Regions from separate parts of the Homo sapiens genome. Here region 2 is linked to region 1. The links are contacts of gene promoters, found by promoter capture Hi-C in human tissues and cell types (Jung and others, 2019). All regions are on one chromosome and are shown on one strand. The core of a region is centred on a gene start or on the middle of the fragment in contact, and the rest is flanking DNA. Distances in the headings are between cores, read along the strand shown.

Region 1 (5,432 bases), core at 1,904-4,403:
TTTTCATTACCTCCTATTACAATCCTATTTTTCTGTCTTCCCCAAGAACGTAATGTCCACGAGGGATTTTCTGTTTTGTTCACCATTGTGTCCCAGGTGCCTACAATAGTGCATTTCACATGTGGTAAGCATCAATAAATATTTATTCAATAAATGAGTCGTTTTTTAGTCTTCTTTTTGTGCATTTAAAAAATATATTTACCCAGTAGTACAAGAATATAATTTATAAATAAAAAATATACTAGGGAGACACACTCAAACATTTTTTACCGAAGGGGTATATAGTAAAAAGGAAAGAAAATTCTGACAATCACAGATGTAACCAATCAACAAGCCAGCACACATGCCCTAAGGAGAACGTCATGGAGAGCCTGTCACTCACTCTCTCAGGAGACTTTGGTCATCTCCAGCTGCTCCTCGCAAGAAGAAAAAACTCCCCATATGGGGTTAAGGCCTTCAACCAACAATTCTGTCCTCTGTCCTTATGTTCCTCTGGAATATTTTGCTAGAAATGAATGGATTGTTTGTTCTGATACAAAGAAGGGTTGATTACTTACTGGTCCTACGCAATTGAGGACAACTGTTGCCTGTTTAGCCATTTCATCAAGCGAGGCTGGATTAGCAATATCACAGATGATGATTCCAACTTCAGATGACAGTGTTGGTCTTCCTAAAATAAGAAACAAATGAAGGAAAGTAAATCCCAGTAGAGGATTATATCTTCCTTATCTTCTTTTTACAGTAATCAGTGACAGCAAATTACTAAATACACTGATATGCTGAAAGCTAGCTCTCCTGCTTAGACAAAAGATAAAACTGTTTTTAATCAGGTAATACAAAAGGAAAAAATTATGAGGAAAACTGAGTTAACACTAAGAGTTACTAAAAAACTGACCTTTTAAAAAAAATCGAATCAAAGCGTTGTGTAAATAACAACCCTGTGTAACATGACAATTTCACAATCAAGTTTAAATGCTGAGCAGATAACTATCCAGACTTCCTCTCCAACAAGAAATTTATGTCATAAAATAGTTTCTTGGCCAGGGGCAGTGGCTCAGCACTTTGGAAGGTCAAGGTGCAAGGATCTCTTGACCTCAGGAGTTCCAGACCAGCTTGGGCAACATAGCAAGACCTTGTCTCTACTAAAAAAAAAAAAAAAATTATCTGACATGGTGGCATAGCCTGTAGTACCAGCTACTCAGGAGGCTGAGGCGGTAGAATCACTTAGACACAGAGGTCAAGGCTGCAGTGAGCTGTGATCACGCCACTGTACTCCAGCCTGGGTGGCAGAATGAGAACTTGTCTTTAAAAAAATAAAGTTTCTCATCAACCACTAAACAATTACTATGATCCAATTGTAGGTGATGGAGAGTTTCGGACTGACTGTTAACATCAAAACCATCAGGGCTGGGTGCAGTGGCTCACGCCTGTAATCCCAGCACTTTGGAAAGCCGAGAAGGGTGGATCACGAGGTCAGCAGATCGAGACCATCCTCACTAACACGGTGAAACCCCGTCTCTACTAAAAAAATTAGCAGGGCGTGGTGGCGGGCGCCTCTAGTCCCAGCTACTCAGGAGGCTGAGGCAGGAGAATGGCAAACAAACAAACAAAAAACAAAAAATTAGAACTCTGAGGTGAAAAGCACACGCTATATAAACACACACAGGCTCATAAGAAAATAATTGGAATTAACTGGCTCAACTAAGTGATGCAGGTTTCAATAGGTGAAGGTATATCCCCCCACAATGAAACTTGATTTGGGCATTATATATGATAAGTGACTAGGCTGTACCGGTACGATCTTGCTGAGCCGAAAAAAGAAATGGAAGCATATATTTTCATAGTAAAATTACTTCTGTTGGAAAAATAACGACCAAAAAGCTCTTTGGTCAGAATTACGTGTTGGTAGTGTCAGCACCAAAAGCTGTAGGAGAGTCCAGCCTACGTGGTGTCTTCTGTACATAACCACGAACAAAAGCACTCCGAGCAGGGCATTGTATGAAAGTAGATTAAACAGAAAGAATGTAGTATTTCCAGAACTCTAATGGGTGTCTGTATAAGGGAAATCTACGGGAGTTAATAGCCAAATTTAAAGGCTACGGAGTCGTAAGTCAGATGTCTCCCCAGCCATGAAGGCAGCAGGATCCGTGTGTCTGTCTCCTCTCTGTCCCATCCTGCACCCCAGACTCGGGACAGGTCTTAGCATGGACAACGTCACTCAATAAATATATGCTCCTTCAATGCTTAGAGAATCAATAAATATATGCTACCTGAATGCTTAGATTATCAATAAATATATGCTACCTGAATGCTTAGATTATCAATAAATACATGCTACCTGAATGCTTAGAGAATACGTAAGCGTCTAAACCAGAAATACACACTTTTTATTCTCTGAAGAGGAAGACTGCTGGAGTATTCTTACACACAAAACAAGAAACTAAAACAGAATAGCCACAAAGACACTGTCAGTACAACTCGTAAGCTTGCTCTCCCGTCCTCAAAACACGAGGCAAAGGGAGACTCCGATCTCCAAGAGACCAAAGCCCTCCTCTCCTCTCCGACCAAACATCTAGAAACCCGCAGATTCAACAGGTGCCCCCGCTGCGGGGCAGGATGAAGCAGAGAGAGGGACAACTCAAGTTCTTGACCATTTCGCCAGGGGAGCTCCCCAAACTGAGGCAGAAATGCAAAAAGCGGGAAAGAGGAGAAGGAAAGAAAAAAAAATGTGTGTGTATATTATACACGCACGCGCACACACACATATAGTTAAGGAGGTGGGACAAAGCTATGGCAGTATTTGAAACATCTCTCCCTCTCCTCTTCTTGTCCTCACGCAGGGCTCGGGGACACGTAGGGCGCATCCCTGCGGGAGAAACGCTCGTTTGGGGCGATGCGGGGTCCCCGGCCCAGCCGCCCGCGCAGCCCCGTCCCGCCCCGCCGCTGTACCCAGCTTCAGGGCCGCCTTCTCCAGCACCCGCTGCAGCTTCTCCCGGGAGCGGCCCGCCACGGCCCAGGGCAGGCGGGAGCTCCGCTCCGGGTCCACCTGCTCCCGGGCCACCTCCTCGGTCACGAACTGGCCGGTGAAGCCAGACGCGCCGAACACCACCAGGTGGAAAGGCCTCTGCTCGGTCGCCATGACGAGTCCACAGCGAGCCCAGGCCCCGGGGCGGGTGGAGTCCACGGCGCCTGCGCCTCAGGCAGCGACCCCAGTACCCGGCGCAGCAACGGCCGCCGTCGCCGCAGCCAGCGCGCCGGGCTCCCTTCACCCCGCGCGCGCCGCCGCGCCAGGGCCGCGCCCACGCCCACGCCGCCTCGCGCGGGAGCCGCGGGTGAGCGGCTTGCTTGGGAGGCTTCCGACGGGAGGTTTCCTAGGGCGGTGGCCCTGGGGGCGAGTCCGCTTCCAAGCCTGGCAGGCGCGGACGGCGGCCCCTAATTCCGTGCGGCGGTTTGTTCTGCAGGGCTCTGGCCGCCCCGGGCAGCGCATCTTCTAGCCCTGCTGGAAGCTGGAGGCGGCAGCCGGTTGTCCTTGTTGCACGTGGGGGTGGAGCAAAGAGTGCGAGAAAATCTGCGGATGGCCTCGGGGATGGCCCACCCCGAGAACCCTTGAGCTTGCTTGCTTTCTTCCTTTCTTTCTTCCCTTTTTTCCCTTTCTTTTCTCTTTTCTGTTTTTGAGATGGAGTCTCACTCTGTCGCCCAGGCTGCAGCGCAGTGGCGCGATCTCGATTTACTGCAACCTTCGCCTCCTGGGTTCAAGCGATTCTGCCTCAGCCTCCCGAGTAGCTGGGATTACAGGGGAGCGCCCCCACGCCCTGCTAATTTTTGTGTTTTTAGTAGAGATGGGTTTTCACCTTGTTGGCCAGGCTGGTCTCGAACTCCTGACCTCAGGTGATCCACCCACCTCGGCCTCCCAAAGGGTCGGGATTACACGCATGAGCCACTGCACCCAGCCCATTCCTGATTTTTAAAAACTCTCATTAAAATAGGAATAAATGAATGCTTTTAAAAATTTTGAAATATATGTCTTGCAAAAAAGGTACAGCCAATAACAAATATGTACCCTCAACACAGCTTAAGAAAAATATTCCAGATAGCGAGGCTTCCAGGTATTCATTCCTGAACACATTTCCTTTTGCGTCCCCAAGACGGCCACTTGCCTGAATTTAGTGTTTATTATTCCTATTCCTATCTTTCTGCTTGTTATATATGTATGTATTTATAAATATTATAGTACCGTTTTGCATATTTTGAATATTTTGTAAATGTCAATCCTGCAGCTTTCTTATTTGGTCATGATGTCGTGAACTTATTCCCAAATGATTCAGAATAAAAAAAAATGTCTGTGATACGTGTGTGGAGAGAGGGAGAGAGAGAGAAATACACCAAATTCTACAATGCTTTTGTACAATGTTGTATAGTGCTTTTGTGCAATATAATACAAAGAATGCTACAATAAAATTCTTGTACCTTTCTCCTAAAGCACCTGTGCGAAAGTGTATTGAATATGTGTCAGGAATGAAAATGGTTGGTGCTAGAATATCCATATTTGAGTTATCTCACTGCTCTTTAAAGCACATGCACTAATTTTCGCTCTCAGCGGGATACAAGAATCCTCTTGCTTTACGTGCTTGTCAGCACTTGGTATTCTCAGACTTCATGCTTGTCCATCTGGTGGGTGTAAAGTAGTAAGCATTCAAGTATTTATTAAACACTTAACTATATACTGGGCACTAGGAATAAAGTACTGGGGATATGGCAACAAATAAAGCCCCTGCCCTCAAGAAGTTTACATTCTAGTGGAGTAAACAGTCACTAAAAAATAATCTTACAGAGCCAGGTACAGTGGCATGCACTTTTAGTCCCAGCTACTTGGGAGGCTGAGGCAGGAGGATTGCTTGAACCTAGGAGTTGGAGGTTATAGTGAGCTACACTCCAGCCTGGGTGACAAAGTGAGATATTGTCTCTAAAAAGAAAATAAAAACAAAAGAAAACAAAAAACCCTAAAAAAACAGAATATATATATATATATATATATATATATATATATATATATATATATTTTGTTTTTTGGGAAGCATGCTTGCTATGGTTTGGATGTTTGGCCCCCCCAAATCACATGTTGAAATGTAATCCCCAGCATTGGAGGTGGGGCCTGGTGGGAGATGTTTGGGTCATGGGGGTGGATCCCTCATGAATGGCTTGGTGCCATCCCCAGGATAATGAGTATGTTCTCTCTGCATAAGTTCATACAAGAGCTGGTAGTTGAAAGAGCACTCATCCTTCTCTCTCTTGGTCTCTCTCTCACCATGTGATACATTGGCTCCATTTCACCTTCTGCCACGATTGGAAGCTTCCTGAGGCCTCACCAGAAGCAGATGCTGGCACTACACTTGATGTACTTCCTGCAGAACCATGAGCCAAAATATAAACTT
Region 2 (5,432 bases), core at 1,734-4,233, 180 kb after region 1:
GTAGAGACAGGGTTTCGCCATGTTGTCCAGGCTAGTCTTGAACTCCTGGGCTCAAGCGATCTGCCCACCTCAGCCTCCCAATGAATCCTCCTCCTTCATAGCAAACATTAAGCAAGCCTGCCCTTTTGTTTTTTTAAGAGAAGGCCTGGCTCTGTCAACCAGCCTTGAGTGCAGTGGCATGCTCTCAGCCTCCACCTCCTGGGCTCAAGCCATCCTCCCACCTCAGCCTCCCGAGTAGCTGGGACTACAGGCACACACCACCACACCCAGCTAATTTATTTTTTATAGAGATGGGGTTTTGCCACGTTGTCCAGGCTGGTCTTGAACTCCTGACCTCGAGTGATCCACGCCTTGGCCTCCCAAAGTGCTGGGATCATGGGCATGAGCCACTGCACCCAGCCACAGGCCTGCTCTTTGTCCTGGAGAGAGACGTTATCTCCTCCCTCAAGGTTACTCATCACAAACAACTCTGAGAAATGGCCCAATTCATTGGTAAAGACCAATTAGGGCTTTGTGTTCTTGGTGTACACAATAAGAAAATGTGGGCCGGGCACGGTGGCTCACGCCTGTAATCCCAGCACTTTGGGGAGGCCGAGGCGGGCGGATCACGAGGTCAGGAGATCGAGACCATCCTGGCTAACACGGTGAAACCCCATCTCTACTAAAAATACAAAAAATTAGCCAGGCGTGGTGGTGGGCGCCTGTAGTCCCAGCTACTCGGGAGGCTGAGGCAGGAGAATGGCATGAACCCGGGAGATGGAGCTTTCAGTGAGTGGAGATCACGCCGTTGTACTCCAGCCTGGGCGACAGAGTGAGACTCTATCTCCAAGAAAGAAAAAGAGAATGTGAAGACACTCAGGGCCTGTGGTGATTGTGTCTTTCAGCAGATAGCTTGAAGGAAGAAGTGAGCAATGTCTTACTCTGGCAATATTTTGTGACTAATGCAATTCATTTTTTCTTCTCTCCAGGAATTATTAGACCAATTACAACAAAAGCTGTATCTTATTCAAATGATTCCTCGTCAAAATTTATTTACCAAGAACTTAACACCTATGAACTATAATATATTTTTTCACTTGTTAAAGCACTGTTTTGGGAGGCGCAGCGCCACTGTAATAGACCACTTACGGTGAGTAAAAAGAATAAAAGCAAGTATAAAGTAGCAACGATGCACAAATTATTCTTTCATGCTAGAGATCTATTTTTATATCTTGATTGACAGAGTGAGGTACCATGTTTTCCCTCATATTTCTTCAAAATAATTTGTTCTCCCTGGTGTACATTTTGAGGAAAATATATTTTTCCCATAATCTCTCATTGAGTTTCATTTATTTTTCCTTCTTTAAAAAAATGCCCAGATTGTTTAATCTTTTTGAGAGTATGGGCTTAGCTTTATCTTACAGGAAGCACTAGCTGCCTACCACTAGTGGGGTGGAGAGAAATCAGCATTACTGGAGGCGTGCCCACACTTACCTCTCATTGCTTGTCTTCAGTGGTTCTGTTCCTTAACCAGAGTAGGGATAGATAATTATACCACCCTGGTTCCCTTGCTCTGGATCAAATTTTGTTTTTACCCAAAGCTTTGTAAAAATAATAGCTTGTAAGTAACACTACTTGCTTTATGTCTATATAAGTGAAAAACATTTTTTTGTTGTTGTTAGAGACAGGGTCTCGCTGTGTTGTCCAGGCTGAAGTGTAGTGGCACAGTCTCAGCTCACTGCAGCCTTGTCCTCCCAGGCTCAAGTGATCCTCCCACCTCAGCCTCCTGAGTAGCTGGGACTACAAGCATGCACCACCACGCCCGGCTAATTTTTATATTTGTAAAAATATAAAATTTTTATATTTATATTTTGTGTTTATAAATTGTATGCCAATTTTTGTAGAGATGGGGTTTTGCCACCTTGCCCAGGCTGGTCTCAAATTCCTGGCCTCAAGCAATCCACCTTGCTTGGCCTCCCAAAGTGCTGGGGTTACAGGCATGAGCCACTGCACCTGGCCATCCATGTAATTTGTATGTAGGGCTGATGCACACACCTCTGTAAGTAGTGCTGGGGTTACAGGCGGGAGCCACCATGCCTGGCCATCCATGTAATTTGTGTGTAGGCCTGATGCCCACACTTCTGTAAGTACAGCTCAGGTTACCAGCATGAGCCACTGCGCCTGGCCATCTATGTAATTTGTATGTAGGGATGATGCATACATCTCTGTAAGTAGTGTTGGGGTTACAGGCATGAGCTCCCGCGCCCAGCCATCTGTGTAATTTGTACATAAATCCATGTAATTTGTATGTAGGGCTGATGCATACGTCCCTGTAAGTTGTGCATTATGCCTTGTAATCAGCAGCCCATAGTCATTCAAAGTCTCGCCAGAGGATGGGTAAAATGTTAAAATAATTATTTTAACAAATTTGATCATTTAATATTTAACTCTGAATGAGCTGTTGACTAGACAATATTTATCTAAAAATAAATGTTAAAAGTGGCAATAGCCTGGGTGCAGTGGTTCATGCCTGTAATCCGAGCATTTTTGTGAGGCCAAGGTGGGAGGATCACTTGAGGAGGCCGGGGATTGGAGGCTGTAGTGAGCCATAAACTCACCACTGCATTGCAGTGTGGGACACAGAGCAAGCTGACCTTGTCTCTAAAAAAAAAAAAAAAAAAAAAATTGGGAGGCAGAGAGCGCCAACAAGACTTTGAGATGAGCCTGGGTGACAGAGCAAGACTCTATCTCTAAAAAAAAAAAAAAAAAAAAGTGGTAATAGACTAGTAAAAGGCAATAGACTAATAAAAGGCAATCTATTATTTTTCATCTTGCCACCTTGTGGCTATTTTGAATGAAAATATCAAGAAAATAGGGAAATAAGGAATAAATGTTGTAAATCATAGTGCAAAATATTAAAAATGCTCCTGGTAATCTCAGTGGACTAGAAACATGTTACCAAGATTCTATTCAATATCAAAAAGTATTGGAATTGAACAGACAGAGAGTCTCACTCTGTTGCCCAGTCTGGAGTACAGTGGCACAATCATAGCTCACTGCAACCACAAACCCCTTGCTCAAGTGATCCTGCCTCAGCCTCTTCCCTGAGTAGCTGGGACTACTATGCCCACCACTATGCCCAGCTAACTTTTTACGATTTTTGTAGAGATGGGGTCTCACTATGTTGCTCAGGATAGTCTTGAACTCTTGGGCTCAAATGATCCTCCCACCTAGCCCCCCAAAGTGCTGGGATAACAGGTAGGAGCCACCGCACCCAGCCCAAAATATTTTTTTACAATTGTTGTTGTTGGAGGCTTATTGATGGTTTGTTGCTAAGCTGATACACAGTTATGTACCTCATATTATGGTATATAATATACCTCATTGATTATATATTGTATATATATTATATAATATACCTTATATATATAATACCTCATAATGAGGCGTGTTCGTTATACCTCGTTTCAGTCAGTAGTGGACCAAATGTACAATAGTGGTCCCATAAGATTATAAAGATGCTGTATCTTTTACTGTATCTTTTCTATTACTTACCATTGTGTTACAGTTGCCTACAGTATTCAGTACAGTAACATGCTGTGCAGGTTTGTATCCTTGGAGCAATAGGCTATGCCATATATCCTAAGTCTGTAATAGGCTATATCACATAGGTTTGGGTTAAGTACTCTGTAAGATGTTCAAGCAACAATGAAATCACCTAACAGTGCATTTCTCAGGACATACCTCCATCATTAAGCAATGCATGACTGTATAAGGAAGTTTGCGGCTTTATAATGTATTTACCAATGATGGTTACATCAAAATGTGAAAAATGATTCCCTCTTTGTAAACTGCCAAACAGCAACTTCTGCTGTTTATAGTTACTGAACTTTGACATGAACCAAAAGAAGTTAAGAATATTTTTTGCAGAAAGGAAAAGGATGAAAGAGGTAGGCATAATAATTTTTTCAAACGGCAGTGATTAAACTAGAATTCGGTGTAAAAATTGATTAGAGTATGTGAAAGCCTAAACCTGCTATTAATATTTTCATTATAGGTTAGCTATGAAACTTTAGAAATAAGCATAAAGTTACTGGAAGCTCTTAAACTAAATAAGATTGCTTATATATAATAAGTTAGGCTTTTTTTTTTCTTCTTATTTCAATAGCCTTAGGAATACAAGTGATTTTTTTGGTTTCATGGATGGATTGTTGAAGTCTGGGCTTTTAGTGTACCCATGCCCAAATAGTGTACATTGTACCCAGTAGGTAGCTTTTTATCCTTCACCCTCCTCCCATCCTTCACCCTCCTCCCATCCTCTTCCCTGCTGATTCTCCCGTGTCCATTATAGCACTCTGTATGCCTAAGTTAGACATTTTGAATTCAACTTAGAAGCCATTTCTGTCACCGTGAACTGATAGATGCATGAGAAAGAATTAAGTACATTTACTTTGTATTTCTTTTGCAGTTCATTGACTCCACTTGATGCGAGAGATATATTGATGCAAATAGGAAAACAGGAGGATGAGAAAGTAGTTAACATGCACCCTCAAGACTTCAAAACACTTTTTGAAACTATAGAGCGTTCCAAAGATTGTGCTTATAAATGGCTGTATGATGAAACCCTGGAAGATAGGTAGCAACTAGACTGTCGTTTTTGGTGGAGCGGTTCATTTATTTGGAAACTATGACATGAAAACCAAATTTGAAAACTCACATCCTTTCAGCAGAAGGTAACTGTTCTTGTCTTGCACAAGCCAGGCAGATCATTTCTCCTAAGCTGATATCATTGGCTTATTGGATGAAACAGTGTCTGCTATTTTATTCACAATTGAATAAAATGAAAACTTCAATTAATTGTGGATTTGATCAGATTGAATTCGTTTTGTTTCAGATTCCTATTTAAATATTTCACTTGTACTGTTGCTGATTTTTGCATCTTCTTGAAGAGCAAGAGTCTGTACATTATTAAGCTTAGAAAGTAAGCAAAACTGATTTACTGGTTTGCCTTTCAGTTTGTTGAAATGTATTGTCAAGTACTGTACAATGAAATTGTTTAAATTTTAATATGATTTAAGCTTTTTAGAAATTAAAATATTTTAAATAAGAAGATTTTGTGGTTTCTTTTGGTCTCTAAATACCTAATGAAACATTAAACTGACCCTAATTTACTCCTTTTTAGTTCTGTCATGTAGCGTCAATATAGTTTTGGTGAATAATTCAGTCTGTATTACTGAAAAGTCTGCACATTTGTTCTATCAAGAAAATTCATCTGAAGTTGGATATGAACCTAAATGGAATTTATGTGAACCTAAATGGAATTAAGAATATTTTCTTGGCCAGGCACAGCGGCTCACGCCTGTAATCCCAGCACTTTGGGAGGCCAAGGCGGGCGGATCACGAAGTCAGGAGTTCGAGACCAGCCTGGCCAACACGGTGAAACCCCATCTCTA

Evidence for each region. Contacts are between HindIII fragments. The study calls those that stand out against the background at their distance.
Region 2: a contact is called between a fragment that was not itself captured here and the fragment with the promoter of SCCPDH in region 1, in 1 of the 25 tissues and cell types used here (lymphoblastoid cells).

Annotation. Positions count from the first base shown.
Region 1 is chr1:246,722,130-246,727,561 of GRCh38, reverse strand. It overlaps SCCPDH (saccharopine dehydrogenase (putative)), which reads right to left and starts at 3,153. Exons shown (of 12, transcript NM_016002.3): 1 at 2,950-3,153; 2 at 558-670. The coding sequence starts at 3,139. RefSeq lists silencers at 2,800-3,009, 3,110-3,179, 3,220-3,349 and an enhancer at 3,560-3,719. The HindIII fragment of the contact is 7,574 bases long and covers 1-5,432 here.
Region 2 is chr1:246,540,218-246,545,649 of GRCh38, reverse strand. TFB2M (transcription factor B2, mitochondrial) reads left to right here. Exons shown (of 8, transcript NM_022366.3): 7 at 969-1,129; 8 at 4,448-5,089. The coding sequence ends at 4,619. Among named protein-coding and RNA genes, the nearest start is that of LINC01743, 19 kb to the right of the region's middle. The HindIII fragment of the contact is 6,053 bases long and covers 1-5,432 here.